Regions from separate parts of the Homo sapiens genome. Here region 2 is linked to region 1. The links are contacts of gene promoters, found by promoter capture Hi-C in human tissues and cell types (Jung and others, 2019). All regions are on one chromosome and are shown on one strand. The core of a region is centred on a gene start or on the middle of the fragment in contact, and the rest is flanking DNA. Distances in the headings are between cores, read along the strand shown. Region 1 holds the start of CD22 (CD22 molecule). Region 2 holds the start of TYROBP (transmembrane immune signaling adaptor TYROBP).

Evidence for each region. Contacts are between HindIII fragments. The study calls those that stand out against the background at their distance.
Region 2: a contact is called between the fragment with the promoter of TYROBP here and the fragment with the promoter of CD22 in region 1, in 1 of the 25 tissues and cell types used here (liver).

The regions. Positions count from the first base shown.
Region 1 is chr19:35,324,005-35,330,436 of GRCh38, forward strand. CD22 (CD22 molecule) reads left to right here and starts at 5,183. Exons shown (of 14, transcript NM_001771.4): 1 at 5,183-5,226. RefSeq lists enhancers at 5,760-5,809, 5,880-5,929. The HindIII fragment of the contact is 23,810 bases long and covers 1-6,432 here.
Region 2 is chr19:35,906,956-35,913,897 of GRCh38, forward strand. TYROBP (transmembrane immune signaling adaptor TYROBP) reads right to left here and starts at 1,340. Exons shown (of 5, transcript NM_003332.4): 1 at 1,213-1,340; 2 at 775-807; 3 at 491-625; 4 at 263-309. The coding sequence starts at 1,273. RefSeq lists a silencer at 352-505 and enhancers at 2,317-2,446, 2,597-2,646, 2,747-2,856. The HindIII fragment of the contact is 6,909 bases long and covers 1-5,522 here.

The DNA of each region.
Region 1 (6,432 bases), core at 3,933-6,432:
GTGCCCAGCCTGATTTTTATTTTATATATATATATATGTACACACACACACACAATATACATACACACACATATATGCACACATATGTGTGTTAAAGCTGTATGTAAAGCTGTTATATATTACATATATACTACATATATAACAGCTTTGCTGAGATATAATTCACATACCATAAAACACACCCATGTAAAATGTCCAATTGAATGGTTTTGGGTCTATTCACTGAATTATGCAACCATCACCACAACCAGTTTTAGAACATTTCATCACCCCAAAATAATCTCACATCCATTAGCAGTCACTCTTCATTTCCTCTTACCTTTCCCACCCCACCCCAGCCCTACGCAACCGCTACATCTACTTCTGTCTCTACAGATTTGCCTTTTCTGAATATTTCACGTGAATGGAATCATACAATATGTGACATTTTGTGATTGGCTTCTTTCACTTAATGTTTTCAAAGTTCATCCATATCCAGGCGCCGTGGCTCACGCCTGTAATCCCAGCACTTTGGGAGGCCAAGGCGGGTGGATCACCTGAGGTCAGGAGTTCAGGACCAGTCTGGCCAACATGGTAAAACCCCGTCTCTACTAACAATATGAATAATTAGCTGGGCGTGGTGGCGGATGCCTGTAATCCCAGTCACTCAGAAGGTTGAGGCAGGAGAATCGCTTGAACCTGGGAGGCAGAGGTTGCAGTGAGCCGAGATGGCACCACTGCACTCCAGCCTGGGCAACAAGTGAAACTCGGTCTCGAAAAAAAGTTCATCCATGTTGTAGTATCTATCAGTACTTCATTCCTTTTTATTATCAAATAATATTTTATTGTTTAGGTCTCCCATATTTTCTTTATTCATTCATCTCTTCATGGACATGTGGGTTGTTTCTGCTTTTTGGCTTTCATGAATAATGCTGCTGTAAACATTTGTGTTCAAGTTTCTGGGTGAACATGTTCTTATTTCTCTTGGTTATATATGTAAGAGTGGAGATGCAGGAGTGTATGGTAATTCTATGCTTAATCTTTGGAGGAACTGTTTTGAGACTTTTTTCCAGAGTGGCTGGACAATTTTATATTCACACTAGCAATATATAAATGATTTAGTTTCCATACATCTTTCCAGTATTTGATACTATCTTTTATTTTAGCTGTTCTTATAGATGTTAGTAGTGATATCTCATCATGGTCTTAACCTGTCTAAAGGCTAGTGATGTTGAATATCTTTTTAGATAATTATTTTCTATCCATATATCCCCTTGGGTGAAATTTCTCTTTATATCTTTTGCCAGTCTTCTAATTGGATGATTTGATTTTTTTATGTAGTGTTTCTATGTTGAATTTGAGAGTTCTTTATATATTTGTTCTAGATAGGAGTCCTTTGTCAGATATGTGGTTTGCAAATATTTTCTCTTAGTCTGTAATTTGTCTTTTCATTCTCTTAACTAGGTCTTTTACAGAGCAAAAAAAAATTAATTTTGATGAAGTTGGATTGATTTTTTTAGGGATCATGCCTTTGGTGTCATGTCTAAGAACACTTCATCAAGCTCTAAGTCTCACAGATTTTCTCCTATGTTATCTTCCAGAGGTTTTTTGTTTTTATTTTATTTTACTTTTTAATTAAGACAGAGTTTCGCTCTGTTGCCCAGGCTGGAGTGCAGTGGCAGGATCTCAGCTCACTGCAACCTCCGCCTCCCAGGTTCAAGTGATCCTCCTGCCTTGGCCTCCTGAGTAGCTGGGACTACAGGCACGCACCACCCAACTGGCTAATTTTTTGCATTTTTATGTGGTTGCTTTCGAGAATTTTCTCTGCCTCTTGTTTTTAGAAGTTTGACTATGATGTGTCTTGGCATGAATTTCTTTGGGTTTATCCTGTTTGTGATGCGCTCAGCTTCTTGAATCTGTAGACATATGTTGTGCGTGTGTGTTGTCAAATGAAGATAATTTGCAGCCATTACTTCTTGGAATATTTTTTTAAGGCCCACCCTCCTTTTCCTCCCCTTCTGGGACTTCAATGACAAAATGTTAGATCTTCTTTTATTATAGTTACTCATGTCCTTGAGGCTTTGTTCCATTTTCTTTCATCTATTTTCTTTCCATTGTTCAGAATGGGTAATTTCTATTGTTATACGTTTTGTTTCACTGCTTCTTTCTTCTATACTCTCCATTCTGCTATTGAGCCCATCCATTATGGTTTTTATTTCAGCTCTTGTATTTTTTAGTTGTATTTTTTAGTTCTAAAGTTTCCATTTGGTTCTTCTTTATATTTTCTATTTCTTTGCTGATACTTTTTATTATTTTATTTGTTTCAAGCACATTTATAATTTCTCAGTGAAACACTTTTATGATGGCTGCTCCAAAATCTTTGTCAGATAATTCTAACATCTGTGTCGTCTTGATGTTTGTGTCTGTTAATTATCTTTTGTTATTCAGTTTGAGAATGCCTGATTCCTAGTATGACAAGTGATTTGCCATTGAAGTCAGGATATTCTGGGCACTGTGTTATAAGATTCTGGATCTTCTTTAAATATTTTGTTTTAGTGGGCTTCCCTTTATACTGCTCCAGCGAAATAAAGTAGGGCACTGCCTGATTGCTTCCAGACAGGGATAAAAGTCCAGGTTCTCCATCCAGCCTTTCCTGAACCTGGGGGGTTGGGAGAGATGAGGCCTCCATGTTATTGTTTGGTAAGGGTAGAAGTTCAGGTTCCCCACTAGGAATCCATGACAACTCCCTGGCTGGGAGTGGGAGGGATGCTTCATTACTGCTCCCTATGTGGCTTTCACTGACACTGTGTGTGGCAGAGAGAGGGGGGTGCTTGTTACCACTGAGTGGTGGCGAAAGTCCCAACTCTCCACCAGGCCCCCTTTGACACTACTCCAATGGGGCCGGGTGGAATGCCTCATTTCTGCATTGGGGTGGCAGTGGATGTCCAGGCTGCCCACATGGTTTCCACCAACACCACATCGGGGGAGGGTGATCCCAGTGGGGAGGAATGTCCCAGCTCCAACTCTAGCATCACTCTGGCTGAGTATGGGAGTGGCCTAGGGTTCTTTGTTACAGCCTGGTGAAGGTGAATGTCTAGGTTTTCCATCCGGCCTTTGCTGACAAGGGTGATGATGGAACTTGGATGGAGCGGAGCAGGTATGGACTAAAAGAGCTCTGTCTTTCTAGGATGCCCCTTTCCTCGTTCTTTGGCTAGAAAAGCATAGTTTTGCTAGAACTTGTTCTGTTGGGACTTTTTCTTGTTTGTGCCCCTTGGCATTTTCAGTTGTTGGCTTCTCCAGTATTCAGCCTGAGATATATGAGGCAAAGAGAAATCCCAGGGAATTCACCACCATTCCTTAAGTCCCGAGGTTCCTAACCAGTCTGCTTCTCTCCATCTTTCAGTCTTCTTATGCTTGTCTTGTCACGTTCAAGGTTTTCAGTTATACTTGGCAGAATAAATAAATACATCTACTCCATCTTTCCAGAACATCACTGCTTTTTGTTCATTTTATTTATTTATTATTTACTGAGACAAGGTCTTACTTTGTTGCCTGGGCTGGAGTGCAGTGGTGCTATCATGGCTGACTGAAGCCTTGAACTCCCAGGCTCAAGCGATCCTCCTGCCTCAGCCTCCCAAGTAGTTTGGACCACAGGCATGGGCCACCATGCCCAGCTACTTTTCATTTTTTGCTTTTGTTGACTAGCCCCACAGAGTTTTGCTGTGTTGTTCAGGTTGGTCTCAAACTTCTGGCCTTAAGCAATCCTCTTGCCTTGCTCTCCCAAAGCGTATTACAGGCATAAGTCACCACACCCAGCCCTATCGGTGCTTTTGGAAGAAGGTGTTCTTCCCTCTCTCTGTTTCCCTCCCTATGGCCAGCTGCCCATAGAGGGCAGTGGTGCTGGAGTGAAGACCTCTCAGCGCATCCCTCTTCATCTGTAGGATGTGCATGGCTTCCAATGCTGTCTGTTCTGCTCCTGAGACACTCGCTGGCTACAGGATTATAAAGGTGATGAGGTTTCAGCCTAAAGACTCTCCATTCAATAACACTTCCTACAAGATATCTTTTTTGTTTTTTTGAGACAGGATCTGGCTCTGTCACCCAGGCTGGAGTGCCACAGCGCGATCTGCTCACTGCAACCTCAGCCTCTCGGGCTTAAGTGATTCTCCTGCCTTAGCCTCCTGAGTAGCTGGGACCACAGGCGCCCGCCACCACACCCAGCTAATTTTTGGATTTTTTTTTTTTTTTTTTTTAGTAGAGATGGGGTTTTACCATGTTGCCCAAGCTGGTCTTGAACTCCTGAGCTCAGGCAATCCACCCGCCTTGGCCACCCAAAGCGCTAGGATTACAGGCATGAGCCACCATGCCCAGTCCTACAAGATATCTTTTCTTTTTCTTTCTTTCTTTCTTTCTTTCTTTTTTTTTTTTTGAGACAGAGTCTCACTCTGTCACCCAGGCTGGACTGCAGTGGTGTGATCTCTTCTCACTGCAGCCTCCGCCTCCTGGGCTCAAGTGATTCTCCTGCCTCAGCCCCCTGAGTAGCTGGGACTACAGGCGCCTGCCAAAACACTTAGCTAATTTTTTGTATTTTTAGTAGAGACGGAATTTCACCATGTTCGCCAGGCTGGTCTCGAATTCCTGACCTCAAGTGATCCACCCGCCTCAGCCTCCCAAAGTGTTGGGATTCCAGGCATGAGCCACCGCACCCGGCCGAGATATCTTTTTCCTCCTCAATATCTATGTGCTCCTCCCTCAACCCTTGGGGGCTTCAGTGTAGGTGGTCAGATTCCCCACCATTTATGCCTATGATGAAAAGAGTGGAAATGGTAATAACTGGATGGTGTCACTAAACTACAAATACTTTCAGGTAGGCCTGTGCCTTTTTCAGCGGGCTGCAGTTCTCCTGCTTGGCTTGAGTCATTCGCATTTCCTGAGAGCTGGGTAGAGGGGGAGTTGTGGAGGAGCCCATTCTGAAACTGATCTGATATTGCAAACCCATACACGGAAAGGAAGAACTGCCCATACGTATTCGAGTCTTCCAATCTGACTCCGAGCCCGCATCCCCCTCAATCGTCTCTTTTCCCCACTCCCCAGATCACGGTGCTGCTTGGTCCCCCTCAGAGCCATAGAGAAGCAGGGGGTGTGGCCATGGAGGGGAAACCTCTGTCACCAGAGACTTTACTGTACTTCTCCTTTTGCTCTCAGATGCTGCCAGGGTCCCTGAAGAGGGAAGACACGCGGAAACAGGTAAAAATCATTTTGCTTTTATTTTGCATTCAACAAGCAAGTTATTACGGAACAGCAGTTATGGGCCAGGCATACCTCCCAGAGCTGGGAACACAGTGGGGACCTCCCTGGCTCTCTCTTACCGGTGTTACAACAGGTTGTAGACAGACCCCTGTCTTGAGCATCCTCCTTGCCAGGCCTGCTGAGTCTTCTGAGAGTAGGGTAGGTTATTGGATGCCCAGGAGGGAAGAAGGAGCCAGGGAGGTCAGCCCCAAGGTTCTGCAAGGCCCTCAACAGGCCTGGACTGAGGAGGTCTGGACAGCATGGCCCTGTCCTGAGCCTCTGTGCATAATAACTGCTGTCCCTAACCTCCACCCCACCCTCAGCCTTCCAATTCCCGGGCCTGGGGCCCTACTCCTGTGCTCCAGAGACTCCTGGAGCTCCTTGAGGCAGCACACAGTCCTGCTCTGGAGGCGCCCATCTCCCACTCATGCTGGGATGCTCCAGCCCGTCCCAGAGCAGGTTGTGGCTGGAGGGTGCTGGCAGAGGAGGGACAATGGCCCGGCTCCTGGAGGCAAGTGTTGGCTGCAGGGAACGGAGTCTAGTCCTTGCCACAGCCCTTGTTACCCCTTAGGTAACCTTAAGGGGATTTCAAAGAACTCTGGCTCTGCAACCCTGCTAAGTTTTTTATGGAACATGTAAAATAGATCCCATGGCCAAAGAAGTATGGACAATGTATTATACTATACTCTAATCCCCATGTCTAGAGATTAATGGTGTAGATAGAGTTTACTGAAAGGTTTTTAAAGTCCTGCAGTAAAGAATCTTACTTAAGCCAGGTGCGGTGGCTCACGCCTGTCATCTCAGCACTTTGGGAGGCCAAGTTGGGGGGATCACCTGAGGTCAGGAGTTTGAAACCAGCCTGGCCAACATGGTGAAACCCCATCTCTACTAAAACAAACAAACAAACAAACAAATCAGACGGGTGTGGTGGCACATGCCTATAGTCCCAGCTACTCAGGAGGCTGAGGCAGGAGAATCACTTGAACCCTGGAGGCAGAGGATGCAGTGAACTGAGATCACACCACTGCACTTCAGCCTGGGCGACAGAAGAATGAGACTCTGTCTCAAAAGAAAAAAAAAGAATCTTACTTAACTCTTTTACCCTGCCTTTCTCAAGTGTATGTGACCTTGAAGATGTTTTTTGCATGTGACATGATGAGTACC
Region 2 (6,942 bases), core at 90-2,589, 580 kb after region 1:
ATCCACCCGCCTCTGTCTCCCAAAGTGCTGGGATTACAGGTTTGAGTCACCGTGCCCAGCCCCTCTTCACACATTTTAAGCTGACCATAAGCTTGTGGTTGATCATTCGGCCCAGTTTTGGACAGATGTCCCATGTGCCTTCAAGGTTTGGGGGTGCTTTAGGCAGAGTGGCTTTGAGGTCCCTCTGATGGCATGAAGGAGTATCTGGGGCAGATATCCCTGGCAGGAGTGAAATGTGAGGAGGACAGTCTGGTTTTCTCACCTGATAAGGCGACTCGGTCTCAGTGATACGCTGTTTCCGGGTCGCTGCTGGAGGTGAGGGGTGTTGTGGGGTGCAGAGACAGGCAGAGTGGTGAGTTGAGGGTGTTTTGTCATTCCAAATCAGCACCTCCATTACCATCCCTTTGGATGTTTGAGATCTGGGAGTTTACCCAGCCCCCCACCCCCATCTAGGCAAGTCCTCAGGATGTCCCCTGCTAGCCCCACTCACCCTCCGCAGCCCCTCGCCCCCGAGGGACCAGCCGGCCCAGGAAGTACACGGCCAGGGCAATGAGCACTGTCAGCACCAGGTCTCCCATCACGATCCCTGCCAGCACGCCCGGGCTCACCGTAGAGCAACTGCAATCTGCAGCACAGGGGTCAGGGGAGGTCAGTGTGTGCTGGGAACTGTGGGGAGGGGGGTCAGCGGCAGGGAGGTTTGGAAAGGGTGTGGGAGAGACGGAGACAGGGAGGTCTCTGGGAGGTAGAGAGAGGGACTGCTGGGTCTAGGCCTACCGCTCTGGGCCTGGGCCTGGACAGGACGGAGACCTGAGGAGGAAAAAGAAGGTAAACTGAGGCACAGAGTTATGACGGGGGTGGGGGAGGCAAGTTTAGAAGCCAGGGAAGGTGGATCCTGACAGCCAAGAGGTTAGCAAGGGGGAGAGCGTGTCTGGCGGGACTCAGGGGGCTGGCGTCTGGGCCACCGGACTATGTGCGTTACTTCTGCACAACTTGTCCTGTGGCAACACACTTAGATGTCTCTTCTCCCCTGCTTGTAGCGGACGACAAAACTTGGGGGCTTGGGCTCTGGGAGAAACCCACAGGCTTTGGGAGGTTGGGGACCTGCTCCCATCCCAACACCCACTTTTGGTTCTCTCGTTCCACCCCACTCCCTGCCCTGCCCCAAGCTGAGCCCAGGGACCCGGGAGGCAGCCACGGAAGCCCCTAACTCACCACTTACAGCCAGCAGGAGAGGCAGGAGCAGGAGCCTGCTGCAGGGTTCAAGTCCCCCCATGAAGCCGGATGCTGCTGGACACCACAGTGTAAGGGCCGGTGGGATGTGGCGCAGCGTCCAGGCAAGTGAAGGAGGAAGTCTGAGGCGGGTGGTGGCAGAAGGGAGGAGGAGACAGGGGAGGAGAGACAGAAACAAAACCCAAGAAAGAATCAGGCCCAGACACCCAGGGGCCATGCCACAGGCCCCCAGCAACTAGACGTGAAGGGCAAAGGGTACGTGAAGCACAAACTTCACCTCCGTCCCCAGTCAGGGGTCAGACATCGTTTTAACAGGAGGGTCAGTGTCATGACCTTCCTCTGGCTGATTGAAACCAGCTCTGCCTCTTCCTGGCTGGTCAACCTTGAGTGCAATGGCACGGTCTCGGCTCACTGCAACCTCTGCCTCCCGGGTTCAAGTGATTCTCCTGCCTCAGCCTCCCAAGTAGCTGGGATTATAGGCGCCTGCCACCATGCCCGGCTAATTTTTTGTATTTTTTTTTCTTTTTTTTTTAGTAGAGACAGGGTTTCACCATGTTGGCCAGCTGGTCTCAAACTCCTGACCTCAGGTGATCCACCCACCTTGGCCTCCCGAAGTGCTAGGATTGCAAGTGTGAGCCACCGCACCCAGCTCCAACCTCAGTTTCTTCATCTGTAAAATTGGGAGTAAAATGGGACCTACTTTTTAGAGTTGTGGGGATTAAATGAATTAAAGTTCCTAGACCAGGGTCTGACCCTTGTCAGCTTTTTAAAAGCATCAGCTATGATGATGATTATTTAATCATCAGAAACTTGTGCTGTTTAAAGGATATTAAAAGAGCCAGCAGCATGTGGGCACTAATGACATGCAGGCACTCTGTCCCAAGCGTTAAATCATTCAGTCCCCGCAATGCCCTTCTAGGGCACATGCTCTTATCATCCCCATTGTTCAGAGAGGTAGAGACGCTTGCCTAAGGCTGCACAGCAAATCAAGGTGGAAATGGAACCCAAGACCCAAAATCAGGTTTTTGACTAGGGAAGAGTCAGGGGGAAAAACAAAGATGAAAGATGGGGAAGGAGAAAACAGCGGCAAAGCTGAGAAAGGTGAGAGTAAGGCAGTGGCACAGACACAGAGGCACGGCTGGCGGCTTGGGGAGAGGCAGGTGGCTGGCTCTCCTGCTGAATGAGGAAGTGGCTGGGAGCAAGGCCCAAGGGAGGCCACCCCAAGGAGACGGGGACTTCTAGCCCCCAGCTGGAGCCTGGGGCTGGGGAAGGAGGAACCTGAGGTTAGGGTGCTGGAGGATGAGACAGCTGCAGGAAGCCCCCCTCCCCCATCCACACGTCACACCCACCGCTCCTTGGGCCTGGGCTTAGGAGAAAAAAGGGGAAACTGGATTCTGGTCACAGGGCAGATGCCCAGTGGCCTGTGGGGGAAGGGAGGAGAGGAGATTTGGAGCCTGGAGGAGGGTCAGGTCCCAGCTCAGCCCACGGTCACCACTGTTCAGGCCTGGCTGAGTCCCCTCCCTTAAAAACCCAAGCCTCTCCCATTGTGTCTAGAGCGAGCATGGAGGGAACAGACCCTGTAGGTCCTCCCGGGCACACCAGGCCACCCAATGTGTTGGAGCAGAGTGGGCGAGGGGGCAGTCAGAGACCAGAGCAGGGCTCTGAGCCAGGAGGGCCCTGACCTGACTCAGGGGTTCACAGGTTCCCTCCGGCCGCAGGTGGGGAGCAGACTGTGGAGGCAGGGACTGGAGCAGGGAGGCCAGGCTGCTGGGATATTTGTGAGGATATTGTGAGGTCTATTAGAATAATGCCTGGTTGAGTTCAAGACCAGCCCGGCCAGCATGGTGAAACCCCATCTCTACTAAAAATTAGGCTGGGCACGGTGGCTTATGCCTGTAATCCCAGCACTTTGGGAGGCTGAGGCGGGCGGATCACGAGGTCAGGAGATCGAGACCATCCTGGCCAACATGGTGAAACCCGGTCTCTACTAAAAATACAAAAAATTACCTGGGCATGGTGGTGGGCACCTGTAGTCCCAGCTACTCAGAAGGCTGAGGCAAGACAATACCTTGAACCTGGAAGGTGGAGGTTACAGTGAGCTGAGATCGCGCCACTGCACTCCAGCCTGGGCGACACAGCAAGACTCTGTCTCAAAATAATGATAATAATAATAAAGGGCCAAGCGCGGTGGATCACGCCTGTAATCCAACACTTTGGAAGACCGAGGTGGGCGGATCCCCTGAGGTCGGCAGTTCGAGACCAGCCTGACCAATATGGAGAAACTCGGTCTTTACTAAAAAATACAAAATTAGCCTGGCGTGGTGGCGCGTGCCTGTAATTCCAGCTACTCAGGAGCCTGAGGCAGGAGAATCGCTTGAACCCAGGAGGCAGAGGTTGCAGTGAGCAGAGATTGCGCCATTGCACTCCAGCCTGGGCAACAAAAGCGAAACTCAGTCTCAAAATAATAATAATAATAATAATAATAATAATAATAATAATAATAATAATAAACTTTCACTCCTGCTCTAAAACTTACCTTGGTTTCTCACTCTGCCTTATGTCCCTTGGTCAAATTCTTTTTTGAGGAGGCAAGGATTGAGGTTGCTGCAGACCCCTATGGATTCACTGCTGCGAACATACTTCGGTACCGTGTGACTTGGATATGTTCCATGCTAAAAATTAGTATGTCCAGTCTCGAGTTCTCAGCTTAGCTTGATAAAAATCCTCCCTCAGCCAGGTGCAGTGGCTCACACCTGTAATCCCAGGCGTGATTTTGGATTTTGGGACTTTAGGAGGCCAAGGAGGGTGGATCACCTGAGGTCAGGAGTTTGAGACCAGCCTGGCCAACATGGTGAAACCCTGTCTCTACTAAAAATACAAAAACTAGCCAGACATGGTGGCAGGCGCCTGTAATACCAGCTACTTGGGAGGCTGAGGCAGGAGAATCGCTTGAACCTGGGAGGCAGAGGTTGCAGTGAGCCAAGATCATGCCATTGCACTCCAGCCTGGATGACAAGAGTGAGACTTTGACTCAGAAAAAAAAAAAAAATCCTCCCTCAGTCCTTCAGCATCAGCCTCCTAGTCTCATCCTCCCCACTTCAGCCAGGCCTGGGCTGTCCCCAGAAGATATTCCCCAAGCACCATCCAGTCATACGGATGTGGCCATAGGGGCTGGAATCAGGGTCCTAGAGCGCCACCTTTAGTTGCTGAGATGTGGGAAAGTCCAAGGGGTCCCCAAAGAATGGACTCGGGTGGTAGCAGACATCTGTGGGCTATGTGGGCTCTTTACTAACCAGAAGTGGAATGTTTCAACATTTTAGCAACCAATACAACTGTGCTGATGCAGACCACAGGTGGCAGGTCTGGGCTGGCCTCTGGGCTAGAGGACGGATAAAACACTCTCTTTGGCCAGGCATAGTGGCTCACACCTGTAATCCCACCACTTTGGGAGACTGAGGCGGGTGGATCACTTGAGGTCAGGAGTTTGAGACCATCCTGGCCAACATGGTGAAACCCCGTCCCTGCTAAAAAATACAAAAATTAGCCAGGCGTGGTGGTACACATCTGTAATCCCAGCTACTCAGGAGGCTAAGGCAGGAGAATCGCTTGAACCTGGGAGGCAGAGGTTGCAGTGAGCCGAGATCGCACCACTGCACTCAAGCCTGGGCAACAGAGCAAGACTCCGTCTCAAAATAAACAAAACAAAACAAAACAAAAAAACCCTCCCTCTTTGGATGAAGGAAGAAGCTGAGATTCAGGGCACCCAGCAACAAGGCGCTGCCCCAAGACACTGCCAGACTCCTGGAAGCTGAGCTGAGGGCCTCCACACAAGATCAAGAGGTGAGTGTCTCACCCTCTCTGGGCAGCAGGCCAAGAGTTGGGGAAGCCAACGCTGACTTTCCCAGAAACCAGGTAGTGTGTTGGCCTGTGACCAGCTCACTTCTGTGGAAGCTACAGTCCCTCCCCACTCTCCCAGCTTCCACACTGGCCCCTCCACAGCCTGTCCTCCTCAAAGCAGCTGGAAGCTTTGTAAAACATCAGATGAATAGAGGCCAAGGCAGAAGGATCGCTTGAGGCCAGGAGTTCAAAACCAGCCTGGGCAACATAACGAGACCCTGTCTCTAATTCTTTTTTTTTTTTTTGAGATGGAGTTTTGCTCTTGTCGCCCAGGCTGGAGTGCAGTGGCGCGATCTCCGCTCACTGCAACCTCCACCTCCCGGGTTCAAGCAATTCTCCTGCCTCAGCCTGCCGAGTAGCTGGGATTACAGGCATACGCCACCATGCTTGGCTAATTTTGTATTTTTAGTAGAGATGGGGTTTCTCCATGTTGGTCAGGCTGGTCTCGAACTCGCAACCTCAGGTGATCCACCTGCCTCCGCCTCGCAAAGTGCTGGGATTACAGGCGTGAGCCACCGTGCCCAGCTCTAATTATATTTTTAAAAATAGGCTGGGCATGGTGGCTCACGCCTGTCATGCCAACACTTTGGGACACCAAGGCAGGCATATTACTTGACCTCAGGATTTCAAGACCAGCCTGGGAGCCAGGCGTGATGGCTCAAGCTTGTAAATCCCAGCACTTTGGGAAGCTGAGGCAGGTGAATTGCTTGAGCCCAGAAGTTTGAGACCAGCCTGAGCAACAGGGCAAAATCCCAGCTCTACAAAAAATACAAAAATTAGCCCAGCATGGTGGCACCTACCTGTAGTCCTAGCTACTAGGGAGGCTGAGGTGGGAGGATCACCTGAGCCTGGGGAGGCAGAAGCTACAGTGAGCTTTGATTGTGCCACAGCAGTCCAGCCTGGGCCACAGAGTGAGACCCTGTCTCAAAAAAGAAAAAAATTAATTAATTTAATTTAAAAATCAGACAAATAGCCTAATTTTTAAGTGACCAAAACATTTGAACAGACACTTCACTAAAGATGAGACGTGAAGGCCGGGCGTGGTGGCTCACTCCTGTAATCCCAGCACTTTAGGAGGCCAAGGTGGGCGGATCACCTGAGGTAAGGAGTTCGAGACCAGCCCAGCAAATATGGTGAAACCACATCTCTGTTAAAAACACAAAAATTATCTGGGCGTGGTGGCAGTTTCCTATAATTCCATCTACTCAGGAGGCTGAAGCAGGAGAATCCCTTGAACCCAGGAGACAGAGGTTTCAGTAAGCCGAGATCGCACCGCTGCACTCCAGCCTGGGCAACAGAGCAAGACTCCATCAAAAAAAAAAAAAAAAAGCCAGCGTGGTGGCTCACGCCTGTAATCCCAACACTTTGGAAGGCCAAGGCGGGCAGATCACCTGAGGTCAGGAGTTCAAGACCAGCCTGGCCAATATGGTGAAACCCCATCTCTACTAAAAATACAAAAATTAGCCAGGCACGGTGGCAGGCATCTGTAATCCCAGCTGCTTGGGAGGCTGAGGCAGGAGAATCACCTGAACCTTGGAGGCAAAGGTTGTAGTGAGCTGAGATCAAGCCATTGCACTCCAGCCTGGACGACAAAAGTGAGACTCCATCTCAAAAAAAAAAAAAGAAGAAGAAGAAGAAGAGACATGAATGGCCAGGAAGCCTGTGAAAAAGTGCTCAGCACTATTAGTCATTAGGGAAATATAAACGAAACCTCAGTGAAATGTCACTGCACGCCCACTTAAATGACTAAAATTAAAAAGACTGACCCTATCGAGTGTCAGCAGAAATGTGGAGCAGTTGGAAATCTCAGACACT